Linked DNA regions of Homo sapiens: region 2 is linked to region 1. The links are contacts of gene promoters, found by promoter capture Hi-C in human tissues and cell types (Jung and others, 2019). All regions are on one chromosome and are shown on one strand. The core of a region is centred on a gene start or on the middle of the fragment in contact, and the rest is flanking DNA. Distances in the headings are between cores, read along the strand shown.

What was found. Contacts are between HindIII fragments. The study calls those that stand out against the background at their distance.
Region 2: a fragment that was not itself captured here is called in contact with the fragment with the promoter of MYH8 in region 1 in 2 of the 25 tissues and cell types used here (bladder and thymus).

The regions. Positions count from the first base shown.
Region 1 is chr17:10,420,553-10,423,287 of GRCh38, reverse strand. MYH8 (myosin heavy chain 8) reads left to right here and starts at 1,338. Exons shown (of 40, transcript NM_002472.3): 1 at 1,338-1,358; 2 at 1,582-1,625. All of the region lies in intron 2 of MYHAS (myosin heavy chain gene cluster antisense RNA), which reads right to left. The HindIII fragment of the contact is 11,670 bases long and covers 1-2,735 here.
Region 2 is chr17:10,476,922-10,479,656 of GRCh38, reverse strand. All of the region lies in intron 2 of MYHAS (myosin heavy chain gene cluster antisense RNA), which reads right to left. Among named protein-coding and RNA genes, the nearest start is that of MYH4, 8.7 kb to the right of the region's middle. The HindIII fragment of the contact is 3,737 bases long and covers 1-2,735 here.

The sequences.
Region 1 (2,735 bases), core at 89-2,588:
AACATGGCAAATGATCCAAGAGTGTAGAATGAAAAAAGAAAGTTTGTAAATAAATAATCATACTATCTATATTTTAAACATCTATATTATATATTATAAATTTTCTATGGCCCAATTTCCTTAGACCAGTTTTACTAATTTATATTTTCCCAGAAAATACATATGTAAATGTACAGAAAAGGTCTGCAATATTACAAACTAAACGGGTATCCGTAGTTACCTTGGGAGAAAAGGGAGATACCAGCATTGTGAGTGTTCATCAAAGGGAAAATTTAGCCTAATCTCTAAGGCTTTAATTTTTATGTAATTACAGTGTAAGAGGTTACACACCTGCATATATTTATCAAACCCATAGGCCTGGAATTGTTCTGCATCCTATCTGTGGTGGTGGCTACATGAATCAATACGTGTATAAAAACTCATACAATCATACAACAAAAGAAGTAAATTTTATTATAAAGTTTAAAAATTTTTAAAAATAAAAGCAAAAAACCTCATAAAACTGTCACTTTAAAAGGGTGAATTTGACTCTATGTAAATTATACCTCAATATATCTGACCTTAAAAAAAGGAAAGAGTTTAATTAAAAAAAATCATAATTTATTTAAAGAATAGGGTATAAATTACATTAGTGATATGATATATTAATTATTAAAGCATATTACAAGGCACACATGTACTATATATGCATCTATAATATGATCCCACTTATACGCCTCTATCTTATTTCTGCATTAGAGATTACAGAGACTTTTTTTACTTACCTGTATTTTTTTCTGTAATAAACATATTATTTTCTACTAATAATGTTTTTCAAAGTTAGATGAGTGGGCACTGGCCCAATGGTGGAGACTCAAGGTAGAATCTCTGCTGTCTAAGCCTGGACTTCAAGAGTGAGCATCTGTAGTGGCCCAAGGGAATGCAGTGGGGGGTTCCCGTGGTAGCAAATAAGGAAACGTGCTTAAGGCCCTGACAGCCGTGTGCCCCGGGTATCTGATCATTTGGCTACCACAGGCGTGCATGAAAGAGTTTGCCAAATTGAATATAGCTCTTAAGAACTTACTCTGAGGCCCCATCAGGCACTGTCAAAGATTCCCTTCCCAGCACACTAGAAAGCATTCTCTGCTGGCAGATCGGTCTCTGTCAAATTATTTATAGGAGATTGGTTTGCATACACAAAATGATATGAATACTTCTAATTATATCCAAACATGACAAATGTCACTACAAACTATGCTGAGGGTTCATGTTGCCAAATGTCTTGCCCTAACAAAGAGGAGGTAGTTGCAGCATCAGCACATTAGTTCCTATATAAGCAGGACTGCCCCTTGTGCCTTATTTCCACCAAGAACCCAGAGGTAAGTGATGAAGGCCTTGGAACTCGAAAAACCCCAGGTGGGGAAAAGAGCTGACCTCGTAGTTATCTGTGAGCATTAAACTGCTCTCTCAATCTTAACTTTTGTCTTCATAGAACCAAGCTTTGGGGTAGGGAAACTTCAATTCTGTAACTATAATAACAATTCTGTAACTATAATATTGGAATTTCGGAGCATCACTAATAAGAAGCTTGTTGTTTTACAGAGTGGAACACTTCTGAACCTGCATTTTTATCTGGAACTCCAGAGGTAAGACTTGGCTTTATTAATTTATTGATGACAGAGGGGATATAGTCTAATGAAGCTGTGAACAATCCTGAATTATACACCATTTCCATGTTTTTGCAGTTATATCAGGAAAGAGTGTTTCCGAGTGAGTGTTTATAAATGCTAGAAAATAACTTTTTCAAAATGTCTTCTTCTCAGAGACTATCCTCATTTGGGTTCCAAGATTCAAAGACCGTTTAGGACAGAATTAGCTTCAACAGTGAGTTCTCAGCTGTGCTTAGAACTGTCCAGTGGCAATAGACTAGTCCATGCCAGTCTTCTTCTATGGCAAAGCATTGAGGACTTAGGACATTTTATAGACATTTTTAAAGACTCCAGAAAGATTTTTACCTAGAAATATAAATATAAATATTTTAGCTACCTTTGATTATTTGTTATTTGTTGTTAGAAAGACTTATTATTATTTACTTAACAGGTCGCAAGTATTACATCCACCGGGTGTTAAATACCATGACTAATTTAAGAGGAATCCTGCCCTTCCCTAAGTAACTTTCTAATTGAAAATAAAGGAAAAACTCAACCAATCTAACATGTCCACATTGCAGAGGCCTATCTATTAATCAGAAGACAATGGCTTACATGCATGTGATGTACTCTTAAAACTTTTTTCTCTGTTTTCTGGGTGGAAAGAAAAGAAACCCATGGAATTTATGTGGGAAGAAGGGCCTTTGTGCTGAAGCTCTCATTCCTCTGTGGTTAGATCTGTTAACTGACAGCTGAAATCTCTCATGTCAAAAAAGATTTTGGAATCAAGGCAATGCTAAGTCTGTTGGGAACAACCCAAATTACAAAAAATCCAGAGTATTAGAATGTATTATGTTCTTCTAACAATCCACTGAGAGATACAACACCAAATATCAACATAAAGATGTTAAAAATAATTATTTGCTTTATGAGAGAAAATGGCCATCTTAAAAGGCAAAGATTTTTTGATAGCTTTGAAAATATGAACCTTCATTTGAACAAGACAAACTTTCTTTTCTCACCATATGATTGTCCTGGCATATGGCATAGACAAACATTATGCAGAAAGAGGAGAGGAAATTAAATAATGACAGTTGCTATAAAACA
Region 2 (2,735 bases), core at 124-2,623, 56 kb before region 1:
AGTGTCTGAAAAGAATTGTGTATACACGCTGTTTTCATTTCCTCACCTCCCACCTACTCTTTAATTCATTTCAAAATAGTTTTTGCTCCCTCACTGAAATGGATCTCACTATGATTCAGTGATTCATTTGTTGCTAAATCAAATGGACACTTCTCAAGCCTTAACTAACATAACCTTCCAATTACATTTTATACATCTGACAATTCTTTCTTTCTGAAATTGATCTCTTCACCTGATTTCCAAGACTTTTTCCTGCCCTGGTTTTCTTCAGAGCTTTGGCTATCTAGTCTCTCCTTCTCTCTCCTTTGTCAGTTCAACTTCCTCTCTATAACCTTCAAGTGTTTATGTGAGCTCAATGTGATATGACTCAAGGTCCCATCTTAGACCCCCATCTCTTCTCACTTAACATTTTCTCCCTAAATGATTTCATCTACTCCCTTAGCTTCTATTGCCATTCATAACCTATGAATTCCAACTTTATATCCCAAGCCTAATTCTCTCCCTTGAGAGTCAGACTCAATCTCACTACTAATAGGCACTTCAAACGCAACACAGCCAAGACGAATTCATGACCTTACCCTCCTCTCTTTAAAACTTGCTTTTGTTCCCATACCACTCTATCATAGTGGATGGCAACATTATCTACATAGTTGGCTCAAGCTAAAAGCTAGGAATCAGCCTTGAAATCTACATGTCCTTCATTCCCCCATATCCAATCAATCATTAACTTTTTTTTACTACTCCTAAACATCTTTCAAGACCATCGATTTCTCTTTATCTTTACTGTCATCTTCCTTGTCCAAACTACTATCATCTACTGCCTGGTCTTCCACATACCTATTCTTACTTCACAAATCTATTCTAAACTGCAGGCAGAGAGAGCTTTTTAAAAATAATAGGCTGATCACAACACTCTGTAGCTTAAAACCATCCCTTTGCTCTTAGCATAAAGGCCAAAACCCTAAAGAAGTCCTTTCGCACCTTGGAAGCTTCGCCTTGTGATACTCTTCACTTCCTAGTCCCTCCAGAACAGTTAAGATGTCCCTGTTATATGATATCATCATTTATTACTTATAATAACTATAATAATGTCTTTCTCTCTGATTAAAATACAAGCTACATGAGTGTAAATTGGGGGTCTTACTTGTTCATTCTTGTATCCTTCCACTTGGGATTGTGCCTTGAACAGTTTATGCTCAATACTTGTATTTTGAAAGTATAAGTAAATGAATGTCTCCAATTTTTACCCAACTTTCATGCTTTCTGTAGGCATCAAAGTATTCACTTTTATAAATTCTATGATACCCAGGTAGACTGAAGTGCTGCCTTTCCCATATTTTAATATCACAGTCATATTCTTCTTTCTCCTGTTGTAATGCTTTTTCCTCCTCTTTGCAAGTCCACCCTACTCATCCTTCAATGTTACCAGCTTCAGAAAGCATTCCCTAGTAGGAAGGAGAATCTGTCTGTAATAAGCTAATATTTTCCCCCTTTCAGTTATTACTTCCTATCTTACATCTCCTATTGATTTACTCCATCCTGATTATCTGTCCTGTTCAGTTATTGCATCCAGTCTTATGTCTCCTGCTTAGTTATTGCATCCTGTCTTAACTTTCCAATCCAGATATTCCACTCTTTCTTATTTCTCCTGCCCTTTTATTGCATCCTATCTTATCTTTCCATTTCACTTACTGCATCCTGTCTTATCTCTTCTGACCAGTTACTCCTGCTTGTCTTATCTTTCCTATTTAGTTATTTCATCCTGTCTTATCTTTCCTGCTCATTTACTACATGCATCCTGTCTTATCACTCCAGTTCACTTACTGTATCCTGTCTTATCTCTCTTTTTCATTTATTGTGTCATGTTACCTTTCGCATTGAGTTATTCCATCTTGTCTCTTCCACTCATTTTTGTAACCTGTCTTATCTCACCTGCTCATGTACTGCATCCTGTCTCACCTCTCATATCCATTTATTGCATCCTGTCTTCTCTCTCTTTCTCTCTCATTTGTTGTACCTGTCTGATCTCTCCCTGTCATTTATTACATCCTGTCTTGTCTTTTTCATTTATCACATCCTTTCTTCTCTCTCCTCTCCAATCCCTGTATCTTGTCTTATCTCTCCCATTCAATTATTATATCCTGTCTTATCCCTCCTGTTCAGTTATTCCATCCTGTCTTATCTTTTACCTTCAGTTATTGCATCCTGACTTGCCTCTCCTCTTCAATTATTGCATCCTGTCTTATTTCTCCTGTTACTCAAGGCAAATCCAGATTTCAGATTGATACATTCATTTTACTTGTTCAAAGAAAAATATCTGTATTTATCCACATTTTACTTCTGCATTTTCCCCAGCTACAACCTATGTTTAAGAAACAATTATTTTTTTCAATCTTTTCTCTTAGTTTCAACACTGTCAAAATCAACAGGCTACTGTTTACCCAGTAAAATTTATAAAAATCCAAAGTACTCACAAACAACTAGTACATGAAAAAGAAAACATTTAATCCATTTTCCCAACATAACTGCCTCTTATCTTTTTACAGTTATCTTTCATTGCTATCCCACAACTTGGAAACAGAGTGTATTCTCTTCCTATCTCTAATGCCAACTCTACAGGAGATGCTAGCTGTTGGCAGGAACAGCAGTGACTTCCCGGTACTTCTTTTCTTGATTAAAGGTATCTTAGCGCCATACCCAAAACTTGAACACAAATAAAATTCTTGAAAGGAAGC